Regions from separate parts of the Homo sapiens genome. Here region 1 is linked to region 2. Evidence: promoter capture Hi-C in 16 types of primary human blood cells and fetal thymus (Javierre and others, 2016). All regions are on one chromosome and are shown on one strand. The core of a region is centred on a gene start or on the middle of the fragment in contact, and the rest is flanking DNA. Distances in the headings are between cores, read along the strand shown. Region 1 overlaps POLR3B (RNA polymerase III subunit B). Region 2 holds the start of TMEM263-DT (TMEM263 divergent transcript).

The links. The method cuts DNA at HindIII sites, captures the fragments that hold promoters and counts their contacts. A CHiCAGO score of 5 or more calls a contact.
Region 1: a contact is called between a fragment that was not itself captured here and the fragment with the promoter of TMEM263-DT in region 2, in 2 of 17 cell types (naive CD4 T cells and M2 macrophages). The highest score is 6.5, in naive CD4 T cells.

What each region holds. Positions count from the first base shown.
Region 1 is chr12:106,438,811-106,444,469 of GRCh38, reverse strand. It overlaps POLR3B (RNA polymerase III subunit B), which reads right to left. Exons shown (of 28, transcript NM_018082.6): 19 at 1-7. Among named protein-coding and RNA genes, the nearest start is that of POLR3B, 84 kb to the right of the region's middle. The HindIII fragment of the contact is 4,799 bases long and covers 1-3,649 here.
Region 2 is chr12:106,951,484-106,957,302 of GRCh38, reverse strand. TMEM263-DT (TMEM263 divergent transcript) reads left to right here and starts at 1,808. Exons shown (of 1, transcript NR_185933.1): 1 at 1,808-3,790. It overlaps TMEM263 (transmembrane protein 263), which reads right to left and starts at 1,396. Exons shown (of 4, transcript NM_152261.4): 1 at 1,238-1,396; 2 at 154-221. RefSeq lists enhancers at 449-508, 1,438-1,732 and a silencer at 1,009-1,768. The HindIII fragment of the contact is 6,686 bases long and covers 1-5,777 here.

The DNA of each region.
Region 1 (5,659 bases), core at 1-2,500, 510 kb after region 2:
GGTGTCTCTAACAAGTTAAGTAAAAATCACATATCTTAAGCATCAAGTACAAAAATAAATGTCTTTTAAAGGGTACAAAAATATTGTTATCTAGGTCCTCCAGGGATTTATATGTCAATAAAATTTGATGCTAGTAAAACTGGTAAAATAAAAACATACTTAAATAAAATACAGTAAAACATAAGAAATTGTAATTAACACATAAATTACTATATTCAACACATAGAAATACATCAACAATATTCACATGGATGACTAGCCTGCTTTTCCTCATTCTTCTAACATATATCAATGAGTAGGTTGTATCACCATTTAAGAGTGGAATATACGTCCTTTAAATACAGTTACTAGCCAAGTACAGTGGCTCATGCCTGTAACCCCAGCAGTTTGAGAGGCCGAGGCAGGTGGATCATGAGGTCAAGAGATCGAGACCATCCTGGCCAACATGGTGAAACCCTGTCTCTATTAAAAATACAAATTAGATGGGTGTGGTGGCACCCACCTGTAGTCGCAGCTACTTGGGAGGCTGAGGCAGGAGAATTGCTTGAACCCGGGAGGCGGAGGTTGCAGTGAGCTGAGATCATGCCACTGCACTCCAGCCTGGCGAGAGAGCGAGACTCCGTCTCAAAAAAAAAGAATAGGTACTATAGGCCGGATGCAGTGGCTCACGCCTATAATCCCAGCAGTTTGGGAGGCCGAGGCAGGTGGATCACTTGAGGTCAGTAGGTCGAGACCAGCCTAGCCAACACAGTGAAACACTGTCTCTACTTAAAAAATACAAAAAATTAGCCAGGCATGGTGGCGGGCACCTATAATCCCAGCTACTCTGGAGGCTGAGGCAGGAGAATTGCTTGAACCCAGGAGACGGAGGTTGCAGTGAGCTGAGATCTTGCCACTGCACTCCAGCCCGGGCAACAGAGCAAGACTCTGTCTTAAAAAAAAAAAAGAATAGTTACTATAGACCAACAGAGACCAATACCATAGCCACTAGACACTAGATAACTGTGGCTACTGAGCACTTGAAATGCCGGGCTAGTGTGACTGAGAAACTGAATTTTTAAATTTTACTTAATTACTTTAAATTTTAAAACTCAAATTGAAATTTAAGTAACTCAGTTCAGTTATATAAAATCTTTTATCTTGGAACAACTCACATTTATGAATCTTTTAAAAGTGTAAATGTTATGAAATGAGATCTAGTATTTCTGATAAAAAATTGGCATCCAAGTTGAAATGTGCTGTAAGCACACACCAGATTTTGAGGACTTATAGTAGGAAAAAAAGTGTAAAATAGCTCATTAGTTTTATATTAATTACCTGTTGATATAATATTTTGGATATGTTGACAAATAAAACTATTATTCAAAATAATTTTACCAGTTTCTTTTTACCTTTTTAATGTGGCTATTAGAAAGTTTGAGGTTATATAGGTGGCTTGCATTTTATTTTACTGGACAGCTCTGCTATGGGTAGTACTGGACACAAAGTAAGATTTTACCTAGTAGATGTCAGAATCTTGGTTACTTTCATAATATATTTCTGCAGAAAATTCAGTTTTTTGGCCAAATGATGAAGCTACTCAGATGTGTTAATAGGAAAGAGTACCCAGATTAATTATAGGTATTTGTGGAAAGTACCAGATGTGTCATCCAGGATCTGTGATCTCTGTGGACCCGCTATTTTTCCCTCAAGTGTTTGTGAAGTGTAACCTTAAGAATTTCAGTGGTTTACAGCACCTGTGGACTGAAGTGATGTCCAAGAAACCACGTCCCAGCCCATCAATGGAATGTACCTGGTAAAAGATCTCCCACTTATCCAGTTATTAACCTATTTTTTTTTCCAAAACACATGTATTAAATTATGTCCCTAGTTTGGTGAGAGAAAGTGCCTTCCATGTGGTTCTTGGTTTGAAGAGTACTGTTTTCACCTTATGACCTAGCAGAACCCCAATCCTCTCAGACAAGCAGGAAGGGAAAAGACTTCCTTTGTTAAGCAGGAAGGGAAAATACTCTAGGTTTTGTTTTGCTTTTTTCTTTAAAGAACATCAGCTTATAGCTACATTTTATAGTCTAGAAGAAAACAGATTTTCTTTTAAATATACTGCTTTGTTTAAATATTGGCCAAGTTGACATTTTCCATCTAAGTAAAAACTACTTTTTCAGATGTTAACATTGGATTGAGTTGAAAAATGAAAAGAAATATCTGAAGTTTTTTTCTCTTATGGTGACAACATACATAAACTCACATAGTATCTAATAATTACTGGAAGTCCAAACACTCTAGATTCTGACTTTACAAAAAAAAAAAATTATTCTCTTTAAAATCATCAGTTTAGAAACTGAACAGGAATTGGGAGATTTCTTTCTTTCTTTCTTTCTTTTTTTTTTTTGAGGCGGATTTTCGCTCTTGCTGCCCAGGCTGGAGTGCAATGGTGCGATCTTGGCTCACTGCAACCTCCGCCTCCCGGGTTCAAGTGATTCTCCCACCTTAGCCTCCGGAGTAGCTGGGATTACAGACATGCGCCACCACACCCAGCTAATTTTGTATTTTTAGTAGAGATAGGGTTTCTCCATGTTGGTCAGGTTGGTCTCAAACTCCCAACCTCAGGTGATCTGCCTGCCTTGGCCTCCCAAAGTATTGGGATTACAGGCGTGAGCCACTGCACTCAGCCGAGATTTCTTATTCACTGTGTATAAAGCACTTAAATTTAGTTCGAATGAAAACTAAATAACCTGTTGTTTATAACAGTAGAAAAATTGGAAACTACCTAAATATTCAACAGTAGGAAACTAGTTAATAAACTAAATGTGTGTAGGTAGATAATGTAATAACAAATGGCAATTAAAAAAATATATATATGTATACAGTCACACACCACATAACATTTTGGTCAACAACAGACTGCATAAATGGTGGTGGTTCCAAACGATTATAATACTGCATTTTTACTATACCTTTTCTTTGTTTAGATATGTTTTGATACACAAATACTTACCATTGTGCTACAACTGCCTACAATGTTCAGTAGAGTAATATGCTGTACAGGTTTGTAGTCTAGAAGCAATAGGCTTTAGCATACAGTCTATGTGTGTAGTAGGTGACAGTGGGTGACAGACACCATCTAGGTTTGTTTAAGTACACTACGATATTCACATAATGAAATCACCTGACAACAAACTTCTCAGAACGCATCCCCATCATTAAGTGACATAAGACTGTGTATACAAATATACATGTATATAAATATATATACTAATATGGAAAATGTCCAGAGTATACTGGTTAAGTTTCAAAATCAAGGCACTGGAAATGTTATCACTGTTTTATACACACACATTGTGTGGAATCATGTGTGTATGTTTGTACTCAGAAAAAAAATCTAGAATAGTACATAAGAAATTATTAGCATCGGCAACTTCTGGAGGGTGGAGTCTGGTGGGATGGGAAAGGAAGGGGATTCATTCTTTGTACTTCATGCATTTCTATATTTTAAAAAACATAAGTATGAATTAAATAATACAAAAACTTCTAGATTTTTTAAATGAAATTAATTTGATGTATGGAATAGCTTGGTAATTGGGTAACGCTGAGAGTTATATTCATTTACATCAATGAAAAACCAGATGAAAATCCCTGCCTTCGTGAAGCTTCTAAGTGAGGGAAGATAGACAATACATAGATACATCAGTAAAATACCAATTTTACTCTATGGTAATAGGCACAAGAAGTAAAAAAAAAAAAAAAGTAGTAAAGAGGAGTGGATAGAGATAAGAGTTTCTACTTTCACTAGAGTGGTCAGAAAAATCTCACGAGAAGGTGACACCTAAGTGAAGACCTGGAGGGGGTGAAGCAGTGAGCCATGCAGGTATGTGAGAGAGTGCTCCAGGCAGAGGAAGCAGCCAGTGCAAAGGTGCTAAGGCAGAGGCACGCCTGGAGTGTTTGGAGAAGAGGCCAGTGTGGTTGAAACAGGGAGTGGGGAGAGGTAGAAATGGAAGTGGGCAGATTGTGCAGGAACTGGAAGGCTTCTGTAAGGACTTCTGAGGGAGACCGACAGCCCCTGAGGGATTTGAGAAGAGAACGGACATGCCCCCTCTGCTCTATTAGGAAAAGACTATATGGGAACAGGTGTCAAAATAGTCAGGAGGCCTTTGCAAAAATCCAGGTAAGACATACAAATGGCCTGGACTAGGTGATGGATTGAGGTAGTGAAAAAGAGTTCAGATTCCAGATGTATTTGGAAGGCTCATGTGATGAGCTAGGGATTGATGTCAATATAGAGAAAAAGGGTCAGGACGGAAATAGACAGTTTTGTTGGCTTGAGTAATACAACGATGGAACTGTCATTTATGGGGCTACTATAAAATAGTTTTCTTTTATACTCAGGATACATATCTATATCTATATTTTTTTTGAGTAAGGGTCTCACTCTCTCGCCCAAGCTGGAATGCAGTGGTGTTCCAAGTATAGCTCACTGCAGCCTCAAACTGTGCTCAAGTGATCCTTCCACCTCAGCCTCCCAAGTAGCTGGGATCATAGGTGCACACCACAACACTTGGCTAACTTTTTTTTATTTTTAGTAGAGATGAGGTCTCACTGTGTTGCCCAGGTTGATCTCAAACTCCTGAGCTCCAGCAACCCTCATGCCTTAGCCTCCCAAATTGCTGGGATTATAGGTGTGACCCACCACACCTGGCCCTCAGTCAATTTTGAAATGAGGGGTATAAAATAGCACTTTGAGAGATTCACATCTTTAAGGAAGAAAAATTCTGACCAAAAACCACTATTTACAAAGTGCAAAAAATATATATATTTGCAATATATATATTGGCAACAGGGTTTGCTTTGTCACCCAGGCTGGAGTGCAGTGGCATGAACATGGCTCACAGAGCCTCCACCTCCTGGACTCATGCAATCCTCTAGCCTCAGCCCCCTGAGTTACTGGGACTACAGGCGTACATCACCACACCTGGCTAATTTTTAAGTTTTTTGTAGAGACGGGGTCTTGCCATGTTACCCAGGCTGGTAAATTATAATCTTCTAAAAAGTAATATATTTCATTTGGTAGCAGAAAACAGAAAAGTTTTTCTTTTTCCTGTTTTAAGAGATAGGTTCTTACCCAGGCTGGAGTGCAGTGGCACAATCATAGCTCAGTGTAACCCATAACTCCTGGGCTCAAATGATCCTTCCACCTCAGCCTCCCAAGTAGCTAGGACTACAGGTGTGTGCCACTGTGTCCAGCTAATTTTTTATTTTTATTTTTAGACATAGGGTCTTGCTATGTTGTCCAGGCTGGTCTCAAACTCTTGGCCTCAGGCGATTCTCCTGCCTCAGTCTCCCAAAGCACTGGGATTATAGGGGTGAGCCATTACACTGGGTCAGAAAAGTACTTATTCTTGATTGAAGACATAAATAGTTATTAGGTGGTAGTATTAAACTCTCTAGCAATATATCTGCAAGAATTCCAATTTCAGGTAAGTGGTACATCAGTCACATGCATCAGACAGCAAGTTACATAGATGTTCTTTAATGTACTCTAAAATGGAACACAGATGCTTCTAAAAATATCATTGTTCAAGAAGAAATATTGTGAACATACTACCAATTCAAGTGCATACTGCACATAAACTTAGAGTTTTTGAACAGACTATGTAGAGAATTC
Region 2 (5,819 bases), core at 559-3,058:
AAAGCAAAACAGGATGCATATGGGTTTATCAAAGGCTACTTCTCCCTTTCTTTTTAAAAAGTTAAGCATGGGCGCGAGCGCGCACACACATACACACACACACACACACACACACACACACACACACACACACACACGGGCGCGCGCGTTTACCTGTTGGTGTTGTATCGATATTCCTGGGGAACCCCTGAGGGCACTCACACCAGCAGAAGTTTCAAAGGCTAAACAATAGCATACAGCAAATAATCACATATAGCAAATATTTTCATTTGGAATTAGCACAGTGTTCACAAGGACGCAAAAATCAAATTAAGAACCCTTCCCTTTTCTCTAGGTGTTTCTAAACCCTTCCGGGTGGCCCCTTCTCTCCCTACTGATCCCTTTAGGCACTAGCAAATCTTTTTTTTTTCTTTAGCAGTGAGTGACGTGGCAGGAGGCAGAAAATGACCCTGGAGGCGCCGTGGCTAGCACTGAGCTTGGCACCTCCTCCCTCCGCTCCACGTTGTACACCCAGCACTCCCCCCACTCCCGAAGGGCTCCAGAATTTCTATGTAAGAAGGGTTTAGGACAGGCGATCTGATTGGAAGTGGGAGCTGGGGGGTCGGTCTTGAAGCTGCGTGTGCAGAGCAGGCAGTTTTTATTTAGACTGGGAGGCAGTGACGGCACGGATGGGTGCTCCAGCCCTCCCTGTCACCCCTGGGCGCGGCCAGCACCCTCTCCATTCCCACTTTTACTTTAGGTTAGGCGTGGAGATACAGCCTTCCTACCCAGGAAGAGCTATGGGGGTGTCCACTGGGAAAAAGTCTTGTGTGCCTGAACCCAAAAGGGAGGTTTAGCAACAGGTCAGGAGTTGGCAGGGCGAGGAAGCCCGGTACCCAAGCCCCTCCGCTGCATCCCTCTCCCAGGCTGCTGATGCCCCTCACCTTCCTCCTCCGCCCCCAACCCCGAACCCCCAGATGCTAAGAAGTCAGGCGGAGGCTTTCCAGGGGTGCGCAAGCTCCAATCGCGGCGGGGCAGTCAGCGACGTATAAGGAGGAGTAGCCCCAGAAGCGAACCTCCATCCGCCCCCAACTTCGTCCCGCCCCTCCCCCTTTCCCGCTGGGGCCTCGCCAAGGCCCCGCTGGGCAGCCAGGCCGGGCACTGGGAGGTGAGGGGCAGGGGCGCCGACGGCAGAGGGCGACGGAGGAGGGCAGGAAGCCGGGACTGCGCCCCTGCCCTCGCATCCCGACTCACTCACCGCCGGGGTCGCGGCCAGCGCTAGGGCTGGGGCCGGGCGGAGTGAGCGGGCCGGCGCAGAGGAGAGCTGAGGCGGCCTGGGCGGCAGCGGCGGCCGGCACAACCCCGGGCAGTCGCGGCTCCAGAGGCGTCCTCTCAGGATGTGGAGCTGGAAGACTGTGGCGGCGGTGGTGGAGGCGGAGGCCTCTGGCTGCGGACGTGGCGCCCGACGCGACCCGCCCCCTCCGCCGCCTCCTCAGCTCCCGCCTCCTCCCGCGGCTCCAGTTCCGACGCGCACGCGCGCTCGTGCAGCCCGGGCCCCTCCCGCGCCCACCGGGCACACGCCCACCCGTTCTCGCAGGGTCCGGCCCTCCCAGCAGTCCCCAGCCGGCTGTGTCCCAATTGCGCACGCGCGACGCTCCGAGGCCCGCTCCCGCCCCTTCGCCCCCTGGACGCCTCCGTGGGAACCCCCGGCCGGCCTGCGCGCCCCTCCTCCGGGGGTCTCCCCGCCTTCTTCCCGCCACCATCCAATCAAATCGGGCGAGGGGCGCGAAGCCCGGGAGACGCGTAGGCCGCGGCCCCCAGGCCCGGTGTTTTGACGTCGGCGGTGCCCGCGTTCCGCGCCGAGTAACGGTCTTCGGAATTCAGAGCCTTCGCCTTAGGGAAGGTGGGACGGTCGCCAGTTTCTCCAGCACTTTCTTCGTCCAGGGACGTCAACCTCCCTTGCATGCTGTCCTCAGGGACTGACAGCGGGGCCTGCTCAGAAGTTCTCGTCGGGACTCTCTACAGGCCTTTGTGATTAAGTGCTAGGGGTGAGGAGAGACGTGGCTTATTTATGTGTTTTTCAGTTTGTTATGATTTTTTTTTTTTTAATTTTACTTCTCCCTGCCCTAGAATTGAGCTCCTTGAGAGTAAAAACCCGCCTGGGTCGCCATCACCCTAGGCTTGGTGCAGGGCCTGCCAGGCGCTCGAATTTGTTGAAGAGGTGGGTGTTCAGTATCGAAAGAGCCGCGGATTGTACATTAGAAAGCCTGGCTTTGCGCCGCGTCCTTGCCACTTGCTGACCAGGCCCCTCCACGTGGTCCCCGCCGGGGCAGCAGCTCTCCTCACCCGTCCAAAGGCACGGGGAGGCGCGTGGCGGCCCCGCCAGAGCTGAGCCCCCTGGGATGTGAGGCCGTCTCGCTCTGAGCTTCAGAGCAGGGTTGCAGGAGACACCTCAGAAGGTCGTTTTGAGGACGGGAGGAGATGAACTGCTCAAAGCCTGCTTAACTAGATAAATGGTATCGATTAACTTTTCTTTGACTCCCTTTCCACACCTATAAAATGAAGATGACGGGAAACTTGTCATACTTTTTTTGTGGTGGGTGGGAAAGGTCTTTATGAACTGTGAAGTCCTATGCAAACGTGAGATGTTTCCTTTCGCAATCTGATTAGCGAAGCAAAAACACGCGAGTCAAAAACATACACAGAAAGCAAAAAAAAAAAATTCACAAAATGGTTTATCAACTGCAGAATATTCAGGATGGTGGAACTGAATGGTAACTACTGACAACATAGCTCAGAAAGGACGTGCTAAAACATGCTGGATGAAGCTAACTTTGATCCAGGTCTTAAATGGAATGGACTATAGTTTATAGCTTCAACCTAATCATTAACTTATGAAATCAGAGAATTAAGGCCACTTAAGCCACTGTGCTCAGACTGTCAAGATATTTAGTTTCTCAAAGCAGAAAGAGGAAATTAAATACTCTTGTCAATTCAACATATGGGTTGGATGATTAGCAGGATCCGTGGATTGTTGTTTATCCAGTATGTGAAGAAACGGATATCCTCTGTTTTCTCGTTATTACACAAACTTCTATCCTTAATATGTGACCTTTCAAGGTTGAACTCTAGGTAAAATTATGAAGTGCACAATTACGTCTTGTTTCTTCTTCCCTTTGCACGTCGTTTTACAAGAGAATCTAATTATTATTAAAGTACAAATGACTGACAAGATTGTAGCCACTCCTGGGAGATTTTGCATTTTTACGGTTATTAAAAGCCATAACTCAAAGCAGCAGTTGAATCTGTTTCATAAACTAACTAAGATTTAAAAGAGCTCCTTTGGGAGGTCATGAGTTCATCAGAAACTTCTGGTGTAGGAGTTCAGCCTATAAAACAAACAAATACATGACTTGTAGTATTTCTTCGTTTTATAGTCTGAACTCCTCTAAGTTCTTGATTCCCATTCTGTGACCTCCCTTTCTTAGATTGTTAAAATAAAATACAGATGACTCACGCCTTTAATCCCAGCACCTCGGGAGGCTGAGTCGGGAAGATCACTTGAGCCTAGGAGTTTAAGACCAGCAAGGGCAACATGGGGAGATCCCATCTCTTAAAAAAATAATAATAATAATTGAGCATGGTGGCACCCTCCTGTAGTCCCAGCTATTTGGGATACTGAAGCAGGAGGATTGCTAGAGCCTGGGAGGTCAAAGCTGCACTGAGCCGTGGTCACACCACTGCATTCCAGCCTGGACAACAGAGTGAGACCCTGTTTCAAGAAAAATAAAATGAAACATTTATTTCTGGATGTTATTTTGAAAGATTTTGTCATGTCTTAATGAGCCCTGGCCACGTAATCACAGCATTTTGGGAGGCCAAGGTGGGAGGATTGCTTAAAGCCAGGAGTTTGAGACTAGCCGGGTCAATATAGTGAGACCCTGTTTCTACAAAAAATAAATAAATAAATAGCCAGGTGTGGTGGCACGCACCTGTAGTCCTAGCTACTTGGGAAGTTGAGGCAGGAAGGTCACTTGAGCCAGGATTTCAAGGCTGCAGTGAGCTATGATTGTGCCTCTGCTCTCCAGCCTGGGTGACAAAGTGAGACCCTCTCTCTTAAAATAACAATAATGATGAATTCTTAGTGCCTTCAGGCAATAAAATTCTTTTAACAAAATTCTTAATACACATATCAATTACCCAGCCTCTTAAGTGACTGAGTTTTCTTCTAGTTGGGTACACACACAGTCTTTTTGCCTTATTGAAAAACTTAGAAATTAGATGTGGCATTGCTTAACATGGTGGGGTGGTTCAAAGAGGACCAGAAAGAAGGCAGAAACCAGTAATGTTAAAGCAAGAAATTATTTCTAGGCTGATAGTACGCTGAAGTTTAAAAAGCTCCAGCCCAACCTTCTACCCAACATGTGAGTCTGTCTCCTGTTATGTGCACAATCATAGTTTTCATCATTATCAAACACTCTTCCCAGGGTTTCAGTATGGACTCATTTAAGTAAGAAGCCTACTTGTTGCAAGGTGCGCACGTTTTTCCTGTTTCACCATGTTTTCATGAGTGTAATGCATTATCCTTGCATTAAATTAACAGCTTTATAAAAGTTAGTTACCCCCCAGTGTAAATCATTATGCTTTCTATCCTCACTTTCTTCACTGCTCTTTGCCATTCCTGGCACAATCACCTGTGCTATTGGTTTTCCTTTGCCTGCACCAATATCCTTAATTTTTCCTATGATACGGCAGATTTATTTGACACAGCTCCTAACCTCGATCATCTGATTTCTCTCAATCCAATGAAGCAAGCACATTATATTCTAATATAGGAAATCCTATATTCATATGAGGAAACCGAGGCATAGAGAAGTTGGATAATTTACCCTGGGTCCCACAGGCTAGTGAAGAGCAGGCTTTAGAATCAAACCCAATTTTGTCTGACTCTAGAGCCCAAGTTCTTAATCACTATATTCCGAGAAAGAGAAAAGCAGTTTCTGACATGCAGTAGATGCTGGCACACTAGGCTTTGGTATTCTTGTTGAACAAAAATAATTTTAGAGAACATCAACATCAGACGAGGCCACTCCATGATCATGGTGGATCAGGACAAAAATAAGACTACTTCATAATCGTGTGTGAATGTAGACAAAAACACAAATGCTGTCCAACCCACCAAATGAAATACACAAAATGAAAATACCAAACTAGTCTACGTAGCTGTTGCCTCTTTGCCAATGACAGCTTAAGCCTCATTCCAGTCTTCCCTCTTTCTAGATAAGATTTATTAAGATACCCAATCATAGAATTACCCCCACTTCCTGACAATATCCTGTTTAGAGCATAGAGCAAAGTTCCACCACCTTAAACCCTCTATCAGATCACCTAACACAAACCCAATCTTACTAAAAGATTTTTTTGAACACCTTACCAGTATGCCACGTGGTTCCCCGTGATGTGTTCTTCCTTGCTGCAATGAGTAGTAAATTCGGCTTGTTCAACCACAGGTGTGTTCCTGGTGATCTTTGACTAGAAAGCATTGACAGTTCTTTCTGGACTATTCTATATCATGCATTTCTATGGAGTAGAAAGCATACTTATTAGGTATTTCTGCCAGTCAAAGGACTGGAAACTGCCCTTTCATCTCCAGCCATAGGATTGTCACACCAAAGCTAGAAGGTTCCCTTTCTTTTTGTGGATCATATATAGAGTGTCTGCTAAATTGAGCCTTATTAAAAGATAGTGAAAAGAAGCACATGTTGGAATAATTGGACATCATTTTTAAAACAAAAGCTTAACACCTATAAACTCATGCCTTTCACCATATGCAAAATAAT